6 separate regions of the Homo sapiens genome follow, and all the other regions are linked to region 2. Evidence: promoter capture Hi-C in human tissues and cell types (Jung and others, 2019). All regions are on one chromosome and are shown on one strand. The core of a region is centred on a gene start or on the middle of the fragment in contact, and the rest is flanking DNA. Distances in the headings are between cores, read along the strand shown.

Region 1 (2,914 bases), core at 185-2,684, 770 kb after region 2:
TCCAGTAGAGAAAACTGGCCTATGGAAAGTCATAGAGAAGAGGAGAAAGTCGAGAAGCTCTCCTGGTAACTGGTCACACATCCAGCACTGGAAGAGTAGGAGATGCATCTGGGTCTTTTAAAAGGCACCAGCATGGTTAGGTAAGGAGGACAAGTAGAAACACTGATGTGTGAGATTGCGAAGGAGGGGATTCTTTTCAGGAGATGATCTCCTCTGAAATCTGTCAATGTCAGCCTTGGGCTGTGCACTTCCTTCCAAGTAAGGTGAGATTTCAGGCTCTCTCAGGCATGTTGGCTGAGGCTTCATTCCTGTGCCTAAAAGCTCTGCTGTGCTGGACCTGCTCTTCTCCTGACTTGTCACCTTGGCTTTACAAGACACGCTAAGGTTTTTTTTCTTCTTCTCCTTCTTTGTCTAGGGTCTTTTAAATGTTCCTCCTGCCAATATTCTGATTCTATTCTGTGGCTTTGACCTGTGATTCTGAAGTCCTAATAACTGGCTCTCGGTAATTCTTAACACTGTACCTCTTCCTGGTTCCATTCCTTATTCTTCCTATTCCACTTTTAGAGGTCTGCTCACCAGTGCTGATTAAGCACATTATGGCACATTTGACTTAAAGCCAAAACTTCTAGATTAAAAGAAAAAATTCAGAGGCAAATCACAAATATTTGGTATTCCATAAAATAAACTTCTAAGCAATTGAATATATTTCCCTCATTTTCATGTAGCTGCTGTGACTTCTTCCTCTTAAATGATCTCTTGTTCTGTTTGACATGCACAAATCCTTCAAATGCCTTATATAGCTCTTTGTTTCTGAACACTTGAGAAAAGTGAACTTACTGAAGCAATTTGTGTTGTATGGTTTTTCTTGTACATCCATCCCATATCTACACAGTCTATAATGAAATGACCTGAAGGAGAAATTCCCTTGAAGCTGTTCTTTCTATTGAATAAAAAGTTTCTGAGATCCCTTAGTATGAATGGTTTAGTGATAAGTGTATTTAAAGAAATCAAGATAAACAAAAGGCCACTTTGTTAACTGAGAGTAACTCAGAAAGAACGGATGCGAAGTTACACATATTGAGAAAAACATCTGAATTTAAACAGGGGCTGAATGAAGATCTGGATATTTTATTTCTGTGTAAACCTAGAGGAAAGCCATTAACCAAGTCTTCAAGTGACTCAAAACTGGGAAAGATAGTTAATATTTCAGGTAACATAACAAAGAGCCAAAAGGATCTTGAAAGGCAAGAAGAAAAGAGTTTAAATGAATGGAGAGACATGTGAAGTCTTGCACTTAAACTTAGAGAAAAATTCTTCAGAAATTGTCATTTTACGTGAAAATATATCTGTATGTTGAATTGCCCTCTAGCTACCATTATTAATAACAAGGGATATGACATCTAAGAAAGCTCTCACAATGTTCGGCTGCATTATAAGTACAGACTATAGGTGACTATCAAAGGAGGCTACTGTACCCATGGGGCTCAGACTCCATCCTGATATTCAGACTTGATTCTAAAAATGACATTGAGTAATACAATTATTTCCTGAAGACGCTGACCAGCATCTGCAAGTGTCCTGAAAACAAAGTCAGGGATAGTGGAAAGATTTGCAACTACATCAGGAAAAGAAAAGACGTAGGGGAAAATGTGAATGTTCATTGTAAATACTTGAAGAAACGTCAAGCAAAAGAAGAATGAGGGTGAGCATGGTGGCTCACACCTGTAATCCCAGCACTTTGGGAGGCCAAGGCAGGTGGATCACCTGATGTCAGTAGTTCAAGACCTGTCTGGCCAATATGGTGAAAGCCCATCTCTACTAAAAATGCAAAAATTAGCCAGGCATCATGTTGGGTGCCTGTAATCACAGCTACTCAGGAGGTTGAGGCAGGAGAATTGTTTGAACCTGGTAGGAGGAGGTTGCAGTGAGTCAAGATCCCACCACTGCATTCCAGCCTGGGTGATAGAAGAAGACTCTGTCACAAAAAAGAAGAATGAGATATTCGAGGTGGCTGTAAAGGGCAGGTCTAGAATTCACAGAAGTCACTGAGAAGCAGGATTTACATTGGAGATATTCAATTCAATGAGTCTGACTATCTGTCATATTCTGAACATTGGGGATACAAAGATAAATAAAGCTGAATTTCTGTTGTCTCATGCATAATTTAGAGAGAAAGGCAATGAGGTAAACACAGTAACTATTCAATGTGACAGGTGGTAGAAAGGAAGAAATGGTCAAGCCAGGGAAAGCTTTAAGGAGAAGGGAGTACTTGAGCTGAATTTTAAAAAAGGAATACCTCCTTGTAGAAGGATGGAATGTGAAATAGAGAGGGTGATCCTGAAGATGGGAATGCCAGCTATAAAGGTGACAGCAATAAGCCAGAGGGAGACCACAGTAGTGATGAGAGATTTTGAAGAGGCAGAACAAACAAGACTTGGTGGCTGATGGGGTATGGAAAATGGGGTGAAGAAAGTATGAAACCAGAATGATTCCCAAGATTTGTGCTTTTGTGCTCAGATGGCTGATAGAACCATTTGCAAAGAGATGCAATATGGTGAGCATGGATAAGAGGAGAGGAGAGAGAATTCAGTGTAGGGTAAACTGAGCTCACGTGGCTCAGAAACATCTTGATAAAGATGTAGAATGAGGAGATACAAATCAGAAAACTGGTCAAGGGCCAGGGATGTAGATTTAGGGGCCATCAGTCTATAAGTAGTAATTAAAATGTTAATCTGGGGTGTGACCAAACAGGAAGAAGGTGAAGTCAGTAGTTGAGATTAGGCAGAAAGGCAGTTATATTGGGTAATAAGCATAGATAGAAATGGCGCTGTTCTGGCAAGTCCATGACAATGGATGCCCCTGAACTTGGGGATGTTGGTTTTTATGAGTTATGAGGTAATCAGCCTCCTATAAT
Region 2 (2,987 bases), core at 232-2,731:
GCTTATGTTTCAGCCAAAGTCAGACAGTTCATTAAGGGCAGAGTCATCCATGGCAATCTGCCTGTCCAGATATTACACTTTCCCCCGGGGTAAAAGCACTGGCTCTAAGAATAGTGAGAACAAAACATACTTATAAAAGGGAGTTGGGGGCTGGGAATGGTGGCTCACGCCTGTAATCCCAGCACTTTGGGAGGCCGAGGCGGGTGGATCACTTGAGATCAGGAGTTCGAGATCAGCCTGGCCAACATGGTGAAACCCTGTCTCTACTAAAAGTACAAAAATTAGCCAGGCGTGGTGGCGGGTGCCTGTAATCCCAGTTATTCGGGAGGCTAAGACAGGAGAATCACTTGAGTCCAGGAAGCGGAGGTTGCAGTGAGTGGAGATCGCACCATTGCACTCCAGGCTGGGCGACAGAGCGATACTCTGTCTCAAAAAAAAAAAGAGAGTTGGGAAGTGTTTTGAATGCTTAGAGGGCAGCTTGGGAACTCAATTAGAAGAAGGGACGGTTTAAGCAGACATATTTCTAAGAGACTTATATGAGTTAACTCATTTGATCCTCAGCACTCCTCCATGAGTTGGATGCTATTATTAACAACCCAATATTAGATAAAGGATGACCTTCTTAAAGACCTCTTCCCAGGAAAAAGACTGTGTGTGGGTACTCTGAAGCTTTGGCTCTTCTGGTGGGGACACCACTGGGTTTCCAAAGGCTCATCCAGCCAAGCGAAGTATCTATGACCTCGTCGTGTTCAGCGCGCTTAGGGAAGGATTCTATGGACTGCACTTTTACCCTGGTGTCCTGCATTCTTGCTCCAAGACTTCTCTTACCACTCTCATTCCCCTAAATGCAGCTTCTGACACCTTCTAGCTACGAGTTCTTGGGCTCCTCCTTCGTGACTTCCTTTTAAGATAATTTCTGAGTTACAACAAATCAGCATTTGAAGAAATGCAGCAGATAAGTTGAAAATTCAAGTGCTGAGGAATGTAAAGGCCCAAAACAATCCCGTAGAAAGCACAGAGGCAGATGACAGTCTTCCGTTAAAGATTTCACTGCTGTAGATTTCTGAGAGTGCTGTGTAGCTGTCCTCTTTATCCTGGTGTTTGCCACTTCGAACAGTCACTTTCCCACTTGGAACTTACTTGTGGCTTTGCTGACAAAACAGGAAGTGATTTGAATACAGTTTGTTTTTATGACCTTTCAACCTCAGGAATTTGAAAAGTTTTAGCAGTGGATTTACAGCCTTGCTTAATACTTCTATTTCTTACAAAACAACCGTATAGGGGTTAAAGTATCAGTGCAAAGTCCCGTTCAAATATTGACTCAGTAATGAGCTCTACAAGCCAGCCTTTGTGGCATGTTAAATTCAAAACAAGCTTAGCATTTTTTTTTTTTTTTTTGGATAGAAACTGGTGGGGGTGGGGAAAGAAAGAGGGAACTGGGAAGAGAAGGAGGGGAACTTAAACCTTGCTTCCTGCTCTGTCTTTCTCAGAAAACCAAATATGGCATCTTCCATGAGGAGCTTGTTTTCTGACCACGGGAAATATGTTGAATCTTTCCGGAGGTTTCTCAACCATTCCACGGAACACCAGTGCATGCAGGAATTCATGGACAAGAAGCTGCCAGGCATAATAGGAAGGTAACAAAAGGGACGTTGTTGTCAAAGGGACAAGCCTCAGACTGGCTGTGCGTCAGTGATAGATGGGTCTCGCTCAGCCTCGCAGGCTGGGCACAGGGATAAGGGCGAATTACTGATAGCAGCTCCCCGTCGTCCCCTCCTCGCTGCCCTGCCCTGCCTTTCTCCTGCAGTGCTTTGGTTCCACGTTTGCTTTGAACACTCAAAGGCTCCCATTTGTGTTGTATTTCCAGCTGCATAGAGATAAGCGTTAACCATTTGAAGGCACAAATCCATGTTCATTTGGGAAAAGATAAGATGCTAATCTTCGAACTCAGATTTTTCAGCCCTCCTCCAAATTTTACATCCCAAAAAAGTCCCAAAGGGAGTCTGGTATGCTTTTCATTAGAATCAAATATAAATAATTGCCAAAGTACGATTTGCCCTGAGGATTGAGTGCCTCAGTTCTCATAATATCCATTTAAATTAATTTTCCTTATCCATTGTTATAGTTATCACTCTCTTCCTCAAAATTGTCTTTTTCTTTCAGCTTAATATTAGCAATGTGTTCCTTAAAAAAAGAACCATTTTCCCATTATCAGTGAAACTCACTGGTTCCTATCCTTCTTGCAGAGTTCTTTTTTTTGGGTGATTAATGTGTTCAATTTGTGCCAGAGCTGATAAGCATTATGAGAGTAACAGATTCCACATGCTAAAGATAATCAAATCACCTATCTGGGGGTGATTTGCTGTAACTCATTCTACTTCAGGAAATAATAATGGAAAACTGGGAAGAAATGACTATGGATCCAATTTGCAAACAGCAAAGGAAAGTGGTATTTTATCTTTTGCTGAATTTCTCTATTGCAGGCCTGAAATTCTTTCACCAGGGCAGTACCTATGTCTGACCAGAGCAGGCATTATTAGATGTACATAAAATTTTATTTCCTTTTCTATTTAACATGATTCAGATTTTAAATGTTAGCTTTCAAAAAATAGGATATTATATATTAAAAATTAATATGTAATAGGATAAGGATGCAAACATCAAAGCAAATAGCAAATATAGAGAACTTCTTACCTAGGAACTAATTATAGTTAACCTCTTTGGGTTTCTTTGCTCATTTCTAAAGTTAAAGGTAATGAGTTAATTTCTCAATTCTTTTTCAGTACTAAAAGTATTTGCTCATGTCTGTAGCTTACCAGATCCTTGGTTTTCTTCAGCCATACACAGTTTGGTTTGAAGAGGTACCGTGGATGGAGATAACATAATCGATGATGAATGACCCCTTCCTTATCTTCAAAGTTTAAATCTAACTGGAAATATTATAAAATCTGTGAAAGACTGAAGAATTTTTAAGGGCACACTGTTTG
Region 3 (2,814 bases), core at 238-2,737, 740 kb after region 2:
GGATATTTGATAAAGGTCTAGCCTTTTCCTATGTGCTTTGGGAGCACCCGAACTATATGTCAATGTTCCTGACTAAAATGTGTCCTCAGGCTATTAAAGTATAAAATACTAGTAGATATACCATCTTGAAACAAGTTCTATGGAAGGTAATGACTGACAGATATAACCCAGGCTCTGTAAGCCAGGGGCTGGTCACTCCAGCTTTATGTTAGAATCACTGCCCCTTAAAGAAGTACAGTCTACAAACTATCAGCAGTCTAAGATAGATACTTCTGTGTTTGGAAACTTTTATGGCAAGTTGATATTAGAACATTATTTAATCATTTGATTGTGCATGTTATAAAAGCATCAGATTGGCACCTAAACAACAGCTGGTTATTTATACAGATAGTTTGAGAAACACAGTCCTAGAAAGCTTATGCCATCTCAGACCAATTAAATCAGAAGGAGGGGAACTGGGAGCCTGCACATCTTCAAGGTATTTAGCTCCTTTAGAAGATTCTACTGTAGTGATATTTTAAGGGTTTATTTTTTGTTGCTTTTAGAGACAGGGTCTTGCTCTCTCAGCAAGTCTGCAGTGCAGTGGCACAATCATGTCTTAATTGTGCAGCCTGAACTCCTCGGCTCAAGTGATCCTCTCACCTTAGCCTCTTAGGTAGCTGGGACTACATGTGTGCACCACCACGCCCAGCTAATTTTTTTTTTTTTTTTTTGAGATGGAGTTTCATTCTTGTCACTCAGGCTGGAGTGCAATGGCACAATCTTGGCTCACTGCAACCTCTGCCTCCTGGGTTCAAGCGATTCTCCTGCCTCAACTTCCCAAGTGGCTGAGATTACAGGTGTCCGCCACTATGCCTGGCTAATTTTTGAATGTTTTTAGTAGAGACAGGGTTTCACCATGTTGGCCAGGCTGGTCTCAAACTCCTGACCTCAGGTGATCTGCCTGCCTCGGCCTCCCAAAGTGTTGGGATAACAGGCGTGAGCCACCACACTTGGTCTTTTAAAAAAATTTTTTTGTAGAGATGGAGTCTCGATACGTTGCTCAGGCTGGTCTCCAACTCCTGGCCTCAAGCAATCTTCCCATCATGGCCTCTCAAAGTGTTGAGATTACAGGCATCAGCCACCATGCCTGGCCAATAATATTATTAAAAATAAACATTAAGATCCTTTTTTTCCTTCTTGATTTGATATATGGAATTCTCATATTAAATATACGTATATTTTAAGTCATGTCTGAGGCATTTTGAGACAATAAATAATCATTCTTTTAAAAAAGAAAGCTTTTTATAGTAAAGATGAAACAATAACATGTAGTACTATGCTTATTTTGGCAGTCTAAAGACCCAGAGTGTCTTCTGTCTAATCCCTCTTAGTAGATTTTACTCAGTAACTGATTTTGGTGCTGCCATTACAATTTGAGGGAAGTTCCCATTATCTAAATGAATTCCCTGAATTTATTCTACACTATCACTGCCAAGTTGGTCATCCTGCCTGTCTTTGAACGTGGTGTGACAGGGAGCTAACTATCTCCCAAGGGAACCTATTTCATCTTTAAATTCTCTGTTAAAATTCTTGTTTCTACTAAGCTGAAATCTGTCTGCCTAGAACTTTATTCAGTGGTCCTTGTTCTCTCTCTCTTTCTAGAGTCTTACAGAACAAGCTCAGTGATTCTTCATAAAATAAACATTCATATAGCTGAGGATGTTTGTATTACTGAGTAAGCCCCTCTTCGGACCAAATGCCTCCACTTTTTAATCAAAAACCATTCTTCAATTCTCATAACCATCCTGGTGACTTCACTCTGATTGTGATCCTGTTCCTTCATATTCCCCATAAAAATGTAATATGATCAATGAATTCCAGAAACATTTATTAAATCCTTACAATGTGAGAAGGATGCAAAGTTGAAAACCAGGATTTCTGCTCTGTATGTGTTTACAGTTTTATGTATCAGAGTGTTTTAAGGGAAAACAATCTATGCCTGTGGTCTGACCATTACAGAACATACTATGTCTATTAATAAAAAGATAACAAATATTTACTAAGAATTTTCTCTGTGCCTGTTATCTCATTTAGACCTCACAACAACCCTGAGAGGCAGGTATTATTCTACTATCCTTATTTTACAGCTGAGGGAACTGATGCTTAAGGAATTAAGTTGGCAGTGTAAGCAAGAAAGTAGCAGAGCTGCTGTAGTCTATATTAAATGACATGCTCTAGAAAAGTTAAGAAGTTGTTTAAGGATGTTAACCAATTGGCCAGATTAACCAATGTTCTCCATTGGATCTTGCTGATGCCCAAGTATCCCGAATGCACACAGCTGGTGGGCTGTTCTCTAGGATCTATCCAATTATTTTGAATTTTATGTGAGACAGCTGTTTGTCCCCATCCTGTTTATGCCAGTTATAGTTGTCATTTTAATTACGTAACTTAATAAAGTATTTATTAGATAGGCTGATGAATATGAATGAGAAAAAAGTTGTTCTTTATATGAAAATTAAGGCCAGGTGTCGTGGTTCACGCCTGTAATCCCAGCACTTTTGGAGGCCAAAGCGGGAAGATTGCTTGAAGTCAGGAGTTTGAGAACAGCCTGGGCAACATAGAAAGACTTCATTTTTTTTTTAAGTAGGCAGGTGTGGTAGTGTGTACCTGAAGTCCCACCTACTCAGGAGGCTGAGGCTGGAAGATGACTTGAGCCCAGGTGGATGAGGCTATAGTGAGCTATGATTGCACCATTGCATTCCAGCCTGGGTAACACCGTGAGACCCTGTCTTTAAAATAAACTAAAATAAAGAAAAAAAAGTTAAGGTGAAT
Region 4 (2,900 bases), core at 370-2,869, 540 kb after region 2:
GGGGGAGGAGCAGTTTTTTATTTTGTAGTTTCAGGGAAGGGGGAGGTATTGGTCATTTTTCAATTGGAGACTTACTAAACTTGAGACTGAGACATATAAGTAGAGATGCCTAGTAGCAATTGGATGTATAGGTCTGGAGCTCAGCAAAGAGGTTTGGACTGGAAATAAATTTGGGAATAGTGTACAGTTTATAATTGATGTCTGGGAGTGAGGGATGAGATTGCTTAAGGAGATAGTATGGAGAAGATAAGGGGTCTTATGAGTAAGCCCTATGAATCTTTCACATTTGAACTTTGGTAGAAAGAAATGGAACAAAAGAGGCTGAGAAGGAAGAAGCTAGAGGTTGGAAGAAAATTTTGTTGGTATCACTGAAGCCAAGGCAATAGACTGAAAAAGAAGGGAGTGGCCAGTTGAATATTTTGAATGCAACTGGGAAATTAAGTGGCAAACTAAAGAGCATACGCTGAATTTAGCAACATGAAGAAAATTTTATATTTCTGGTTGTCAATACACCCATAAACTGTTTGATGATGAATTTTGTATTAATCTGCCGAAGTTACAATCCTAAATTAAAATAAAATATTAAATCTATAATATGAACCATATCTGTCTTCCTGAGTTCAGACGTGTTTTTAGTATCATCTGGCTGTTCTATAAGTATCTAAAACTTTTCACAGCTTATTCATTCATAGTATGTATTTTTTAAATACTCACTATTTATCAGACACTGAATGCTAGACTTCTAGGTATGGGATTAGAATTCAGAGACTAGGGACCATGAACGATTAAACAAATATTTGTTTTTCTTGTGTGATTAGTGCTGTCGTGGCAGTTTATTCAGGTTGCCTTGGAAGCACAGAGCAGGGGCATCAGGGGAGGCTTTCAAGGAAAATGACCCTTGAGCAGAGTGTTTCTGAAAGTCAAGTTACACAGGTGGAGAAGACGAGTTAAACATAGGTGGCAGAGGAGTTTAAAGAAATGATACTCCAAGTAATTTGAAAGCCTGCAAAGGCAGAAATTGGGGCTAGAGTACACGGGTAGTAGGTTGGAGAGGTTGGCCATGCCATTTAAAGGTTTCTCACTTGAACTTGTATCTTTTTTGGATTTTTTTTATTAATATCCTTACCACCCATATAGTCACTAAATGTGGAGGTATCTTTTTAATATCTTTAAGAATTAAATATTTCTTTGTTTTAGTATTTATTGCCCAAGGTAGTGTTTTATTTTTGCTAGTTAGCTTTACATTATATGTATTAAATCTATACTTACAGGTTCATTCAATAACTGATAGCATAAATATTTTAGTTATATTCCAGTGACTTATTATGGAAGAAATTTTATACATGTAACTTTTTCTCTCAATTTTAGGGAGTTTAAAAGGAAAGCCTTGCTAAGGATTGGTGAAGATGTAGTACTAAACCTTGGGTATATGGTCAATGATGGTGTTTCTGGGCTCAGTAGAATGACAGCCATCCCCTGATAGCTTAAATGTTATTTTAGGTGGTTGTATTACATCAAAAAGTCTACAAATCCCTGGACTTTTCTCTTGGACCATGGGTAGAATACAATTTATCTATAGACATGGATAAACTTTTTGAAGAATACTGTAGTTGGCAAAACCTTAATTGGCAAGGGCAGGGTCTCATAGAAAATAATGGGATAGAAAGGAAAATTATGTTAAAATTAATTTTATTCTTTCTTTATTTATTTTCTATTTTTTTGAGACAGAGTCTTGCCCTTTTGCCCAGGCTGGAGTGCAGTGACGTGATCTCAGCTCATTGCAACCTCTGTCTCCTGGTTCAAACAATTCTCCTGCCTCAGCCTCCTGAGTAGCTGGGACTACAGGCACAGCCACCATGCCCAGCTAACTTTTGTATTTTTAGTAGAGATGGGGTTTCACCATGTTGGCCAGGCTGGTCTTGAACTCCTGACCTCAAGTAATCCTCCCACCTCAGCCTCCCAAAGTGCTGGGATTATAGGCTGAGCCACTGGGTCTGGCCAAAGTGAATTTTAAAAACACAGTAAATGAAAAGTTCTAGAAGACATCCAGTTTATTTTATTTTTTGGCAGAGACGGGTCTCACTGTCTTTCCCAGGCTTGTCTCAAACTCCTGGCCTCAAGGGAATTAAGAAAATTATAACTTTAAAAATTTATTTTTACTAGTTCATACTGGCTTTAAAATCTTTTGCTCTTGCCTTCTCCTTGGTTTTAAGTTTTGTTATGTCTTATATAACAACTGTGTGCTTTTCATGTATTTATTATGGCTCTTACAGGTACCCTTTTAGAGGCGTTTTATCTTTATGTTGAACATAACTATAGCTCCTGTTTGGTATTCTTTATACCTGCTTATATGTTCTAAAAGAGGTCAGGATAATTATTAGCATTATATTCTGAATTGTGTAATACATGAGACTAAACTTTACATAGGTAAAAGCTAGCAGATTAAAATGATTTTTTTATTCTCAAGTATGAAATTTTTGCACCTCAAACCATGGTTGGGACAGGTTAGATAGGAGATACGTATATGTATATATACCTAAAGTGAAGGTATGATGAAGATACTCATCTCTGCAATACGAATATATTTAGAAAATACTCCCCTTCCCCCAACACACACACTTCTTTGGAGTTGGTGTATTTGCTTTCATCCTATAGTAGATAAATAAGTAAAAATATTTAGGGTTAACAATTAAAAACAAAGAGGTGTTTTTATTTTCTGCAGAACTGAAGATTGATAGTATATCTAAAAAGTAGTATGCTTTTGAAATATTATTTTATAGGTATGAGCTGAGATTAAATTCAAAAAACAAAAATAACAAAATATAATGTTATATTTATTGACAAAGAAAATACCATTGTTTCCTGTTTGGGTATGTTTTCTGAAGCAAATTTAACAATTT
Region 5 (2,932 bases), core at 246-2,745, 650 kb after region 2:
CCCAGGCCGGAGTGCAGTGGTGCGATCTATGCTCACTGCAACCTCTGCTTCCCAGGTTCAAGCAATTCTTCTGTATCAGCCTCTTGGGTAGCTGGGGCTACAGGCACATGCCACGACGTCTAGCTGATTTTTATGCTTTTTAGTAGAGATGGAGTTTCACCATGTTGGCCAGGCTGGTCTCGAACTCCTGACCTCAAGTGATCCGCTCACCTCGGCCTCCCAAAGTGCTGGGATTATAGGCATGAGCCACCGTGACCGGCCTTAATGTGTTTTCGACCCTATTTTCAGAATCTGTCATGAAAGTCTTTTAGACTGTTTTGGGGAAGCATTGATATTTGGGGCAAGCTATCATTTGGAAATTACAACTTTAAGGAGAGATTTTTATAACCATAGCCATGGATGGGGCGGCGATGGTGGCCAGAATCTCAGAAATAGTGAGACAAGTCTCCAGGCTTTATTGCCAACTGATTCTACCTGCTATGTAAAACTGTGTAAGAACCTCCCAGGATTCCCATCTTGGTGTTGGTAGGAGAGTAAGGCAGACATAGACCAGGGTCAGGGGCCCATGAACACTTCCTTGCTTTTAGTGTTCTTTCCTTGATACCCTTAGTGACTAATGTGGGAAAGGCAGTGGTGTTCCTCAAACATCCCAGTTGCTTCCTCACGTTTTTCAGCACCTGCACAGGTAGGCAGGGTTACAAGACTGGTTCTGGCTCAGGGACTGTGACTGAAGAAGATGTGTGTCATTTCCAGGCCAACGCATAGACAAGCCACCGTGGCACCTGAACTGGACTTGTGTTGAAATGCACAGCTTGCATGGCTGAGTAACACTGGAGGGAAAGTGTTCTAGAGACTTATTTGGACCCACAGCAGAATTTGTATGAGCAGGAGACCTCTGTTATGTTAGGCTACCGAGCTTATTACTATAGCATAAGCTGGCCTATTCTGACCTATTCTGACCAATGATGTGTGGATACAGTAAAAGAAGGAAGACTTCTAAAGCTTTTGTCTGGTTGTATTGTTCTGCCTTTTCTTCTGTTGATTCTCTTTCCTTTGAGAGTGTAAGGAGTACATTGGGGTGTGTGATGTTATTATATATATATGATTTATATATATATATATATCATATATATATGTTATATATATATATATCATATATATATGTTATATATATATATATATATCATATATATATGTTTTCATCCTTCCTGACTCATAACTCCCATAGCCCTTGTTATAGGCTTTTCTTATAATGTTGGGGTGAATTGAGCCTCAGAAACAGGCCTCAGAAAATAGAAGTTTGCTCTCTGATCTTCTCCTGCCTTCGTTTCACCTGCTCCTTTGTTTTCCTCCAAAGCAGGACTCTAATCTTCCCCAACCTATCCAAAAAGAAATTTTATGACTTAGCTTGTCTGATTGTAGATCATAAGACCCCCATCTCAGAAGGAGCCCTGCCCCATACCTGGGAGGAAAGAATACTGCACAGAGAGGCCAAGAAAAATCTGAACAGACAGGCCTTGCTGGGTTCCTCACTCAGCCTATTAGTATTAAGTCATACCCTTTTTATCAGATCTCATGTCTACACTGTTGTCAATCATGCCTACCCAATGAAGTCTCCATAAAAGGCCCAAGAAGACAGGGAGCTTTCAGATAGCTGAACACATGGAGGTTCCTGGAGGATGGTGAGCCCCGGAGGGTGGTGAGCCTTGGAAGCTCCACAGCTCTCCCCATACCTTGCCCTGTGTAACTCTTCATCTGTATCCTTTCTAATATCCTTTCTGATAAACCAGTAAATGTGTTTCCTTGTGTTCTGTGAGCTGTTCTCACAAATTATTCAAATCTAAGGGGCTGGATGTCATGAGACCTCTGATTCATAGCCAGTCGATCAGAAGCACAAGAATAACAACCTGGGGTTAGCAACTGGTCTCAGAAGCTGGGCTGGGGTGGGGTAATCTTAGGGACTGAGCCCTCACTCTGTGGGATCTAACACTATTTCCAGGTAGGTAGTGTCAGAATTGAGTTGAATTAGATGGCACGCAGTGGTGTCTGCTGCAGAATTGATTGCTTGCTTTTTGGTGGGGAAAAACCCCCACATATTTGGTAGCAGAAGTCTTCTGTGATGATTGATTGTTACTGTGGTTGAGAGCAGAAGAAAAACAATTTTAGTTTTTCCACTCAAAGGGTGAAAAATAAGCCTAAAAATTTAGTTAATTTGGAGTTTGGTTGTGACAGTCTTTATTTCTGATATATTGAATCTAGGTCTAATAATAAGAGGAAGAACTCTCGCTAAAAGTGGACAGGCCAAATTCTTTCAAAGCCATTGAACTTCTACTATAGGATACCGCCTATAGAACATTCCTGGGCAGAATCTCCAGGCATCATGTGAGGTGGGAGGTGGTGTTGGAAGAAGGCTTCTTACGCTTCAAATTACATCCCACCATTGCTCAAGAAGACATATTTGTTGGACTAATAATATTTTGTCTCTGTTAACATTCAACACTTAAATGAGTACTTAGGAACATATTGAAGATGAAAAAATGAAATACCCTCTTGAGGCCCTAAAGGAGTTCACAGGGTAATGCTTTTTTATTTTTTTATTTTTAAAATTATTTTATTTTTTGTCTCACTTCTATCACCCAGGCTGGAGTGCAATGGCGTGATCTTGGCTCACTGCAGCCTAAACTTCCCAAGCTCAGGTGATCCTCCCACATCAGCCTCCAAAATAGCTGGGACTATAGGAGCATGACACCACGCCTGCTGAATTTTTTTTATTTATTATTTTTAGTAGAAGTGAGATTTTGCCATGTTGCCTGGATTGGTTTCGAACTCTTGGGCTCATGATTGGCCCTCCTCAGCCTCCCAAAGGGCCAAGATTACAGGCATGAGCTGCCATGCCCATCTGGTAATGCTTATAATCACAGCAAGACATTAA
Region 6 (2,700 bases), core at 57-2,556, 610 kb after region 2:
AATACACTGCTTCAATTCTAATTTATTTTTCATTTCAGGGGGCAAATATGCAATGAGTTGGCCTAGATTTTTAGTGACATTTATGATGTTTGTCTTGTATGTTAACTGTCCAACAAACTGTGGGTTTATTCTAAGTTTACAATTATTGAGAACTGATTGAGGTTAAGATTTCATGAAGAAAGCATGTATTGTGTGGAAGTAATTTTTTTTTAATTTATACTGACCTACATTTATACGAAGAATTCTGTACATGTTAAAAGTAAGGATGACCAAATGCAAATTTAATGAGTGGGCCAATTAAGAAAGATACATATGCACTTTTACTGTGTAACTTTTGTATGCTGAATGGTACATATATTTTTTTGCTTTTGAGGGAATTAATAAGGTATAATTAATTGTGTCTTAACTTTTCAAAGAAATTTTTAGATGGAGGCAACTGGGATGTTTGTGATAATAGATGAGAAAGACATCCTTGATTGTAGTTAAATTGGTTTGGATTACAGATATTCATTATTGAATTGACTCCTATTTTCTCACACTTTGGAAAAGACACCTGAACAATAAATGAATCCTGGATAGTCTACTCTCCTTCAAACAATTAACTGATACTTGCCTTTGGGAGATGCATACAAAAGGAGAGAACCCTTAGACTATGTCAGGTCACACTAGGAACCTCCCCTCACTCCCCGTTTTTCTTCATTGTGTTTCAGTTACTGTACTAACATTGTGGATGATACTGAAATTCTGCATAATGTGAACAGGATAAACTATTTATAAACTGCTTTTCATGGGCCAGTTCTTTATTATAAATGAATTTTAGCTTTAAATGCATATACACGTTCAGTGTTTGATAGTTGTGTTCTTAAGGGAGGTTTGTTCTGGTGCATTGTCCTGGAGAAGCAGAAGCAGTCAGTGTTGGGGTACCACATCTGACTTACTGTGGTGGTGACCAGTGTGCTTCTTAAGGGCAAGATTTATATTTGACCACAAGGGAAAAAGTGTGTCACTGGAAAAAAACGCATATACCTATGTTTGCAAACATAACTATTCTTCAGATTAAAATTTGTATAATTTGTTTATTTAATGTTTGAATTCAGGACAAAAGAAAAAATGAAGCTTGAGGTGTTTTCAAATAGACCTTATTTTTGCTATCTCTTTGTTAGGTGTTAACTGAAGCAATTCGAATATGTCCAGATTCATTTGGATTCATATTTACATTGAAAAAACTCAACTAAGCATTTGTTATCCACAACAACCTAGAGTTTAAAAAGATCGTATTTTCACCTGTCTTCATTACTTTCTATGTAGTTTCATTCTTTGTCGTGGTAACTTAAATTTGAAATTGGAAGAATCTCTTGGGATAGAAGAAAGATTCTTACCTGGTGATGGAACTTCATACTTCATCCTGTGTAAGAGTATTATGGGAAGTAGAAATTCACTTCCTTAAATCCATCGTAAGATTGAGCCTCAAGTTTGCAATATACAATTTTAAAAATACACATACATACATACATATGTATACATTTCCAGTTTTAAGATTTTGCGAGGGTCTTATAAGAAAACAAAAATTCCCTCAGGCTATAGAATTATGTTGTCATATATCAGAAAAGTACTGATGTATCCATTTATATCCAATGCGCACCACACCGGCACATTGTGATTTAATTCACCGCTTGAATCTATATTTCTAACCACAGTGACTTCAGTAAAAATACCGTATAATGAACATTTCAGCTTCTTCTTACTTACTCGAGAGTTTATTGCAAATCTTAAGGATTTTATTATAAAGATTTTTTTTTTAGTTTGGTAGCACATTTTGTACCAAAAATGTCAAACACTGTGCTGTAAGAATATCCATGTTTGTAGAAATGTCCACTTTTCAGATAATATAATGCCTACCATTATACTAACAGAATCATATGGTAGTTGATTTATTTTTTTATTTATTATGTATATTTTTGGTATTGTGGGTTCTTGAGGCAATGATAAAAACACTTAATGTATTCTGACATGAGTGCTCTAATAGCCTCCTTCTCCTCATTTTTAAACTGCATACATTACTTTCAAAATAGGTATAGATACTCTGTCCCGCCTTTTGAGCTATTAGCCTGTTCCTGTTTCCCTTTGTCACCTAAGCAAGGCTTTTTCTGAGAAGGTAGTGAATGGTTTCAAATGTTGCATACTATAAGAATAATCATTGGGTAACTGTTGTTTAGACCAACACTTAGAAATACTATATTTGTGCCTTTTCATTTTTAATTTTAATGTGTGTTGATATTTGGAGCACAAATAATGAAGGTGCCATAATATGGCTTGCCAATGTTACCTCCTTGAATAGTCATGTGTCATTGTCTTGAATTGGTAATTGGAGAACCTTGCATGAAATATGTGATCGTGTGTGTGTGTGTGTATGCGCGTGTGTGTCTGTGTGTTTGTGTACATACCTGTATTTGCTTGGGGCTTGTGTGTGGTATGTTACAAAGAGTGAATTTCTGGAAATAGAAATCAGTTAAATGTTGAAAGTTCAGGTTAGCAGAAATATTTCATTTAAATATGCTTTACTTTGGAGGACAATTGATTAACAGAGGAAATGATAATTTTCAAAAATGTGATCAATTTACTGCATGATGAAATGTGAAAACAGTGCCTTTTTAGGACATCAATTATAATAAAATTGTTTTAAAATATTAACAAAGATCT

The links. The method cuts DNA at HindIII sites, captures the fragments that hold promoters and counts their contacts. A contact is called where the count stands out against the background at its distance.
Region 1: a contact is called between a fragment that was not itself captured here and the fragment with the promoter of HNMT in region 2, in 1 of the 25 tissues and cell types used here (dorsolateral prefrontal cortex).
Region 3: a contact is called between a fragment that was not itself captured here and the fragment with the promoter of HNMT in region 2, in 2 of the 25 tissues and cell types used here (dorsolateral prefrontal cortex and lymphoblastoid cells).
Region 4: a contact is called between a fragment that was not itself captured here and the fragment with the promoter of HNMT in region 2, in 1 of the 25 tissues and cell types used here (hippocampus).
Region 5: a contact is called between a fragment that was not itself captured here and the fragment with the promoter of HNMT in region 2, in 1 of the 25 tissues and cell types used here (dorsolateral prefrontal cortex).
Region 6: a contact is called between a fragment that was not itself captured here and the fragment with the promoter of HNMT in region 2, in 2 of the 25 tissues and cell types used here (H1 embryonic stem cells and dorsolateral prefrontal cortex).

What each region holds. Positions count from the first base shown.
Region 1 is chr2:138,732,263-138,735,176 of GRCh38, forward strand. All of the region lies in intron 1 of NXPH2 (neurexophilin 2), which reads right to left. Among named protein-coding and RNA genes, the nearest start is that of NXPH2, 47 kb to the right of the region's middle. The HindIII fragment of the contact is 6,849 bases long and covers 1-2,914 here.
Region 2 is chr2:137,962,992-137,965,978 of GRCh38, forward strand. HNMT (histamine N-methyltransferase) reads left to right here and starts at 1,482. Exons shown (of 6, transcript NM_006895.3): 1 at 1,482-1,637. The coding sequence starts at 1,501. The HindIII fragment of the contact is 6,466 bases long and covers 1-2,987 here.
Region 3 is chr2:138,704,129-138,706,942 of GRCh38, forward strand. The region is part of intron 1 of NXPH2 (neurexophilin 2); the gene reads right to left. Among named protein-coding and RNA genes, the nearest start is that of NXPH2, 75 kb to the right of the region's middle. The HindIII fragment of the contact is 3,859 bases long and covers 1-2,814 here.
Region 4 is chr2:138,506,630-138,509,529 of GRCh38, forward strand. All of the region lies in intron 1 of SPOPL (speckle type BTB/POZ protein like), which reads left to right. Among named protein-coding and RNA genes, the nearest start is that of SPOPL, 6.3 kb to the left of the region's middle. The HindIII fragment of the contact is 6,857 bases long and covers 1-2,900 here.
Region 5 is chr2:138,608,895-138,611,826 of GRCh38, forward strand. The region is part of intron 2 of LINC02631 (long intergenic non-protein coding RNA 2631); the gene reads left to right. Among named protein-coding and RNA genes, the nearest start is that of LINC02631, 8.8 kb to the left of the region's middle. The HindIII fragment of the contact is 6,437 bases long and covers 1-2,932 here.
Region 6 is chr2:138,569,605-138,572,304 of GRCh38, forward strand. SPOPL (speckle type BTB/POZ protein like) reads left to right here. Exons shown (of 11, transcript NM_001001664.3): 11 at 1-2,700. Among named protein-coding and RNA genes, the nearest start is that of LINC02631, 31 kb to the right of the region's middle. The HindIII fragment of the contact is 5,359 bases long and covers 1-2,700 here.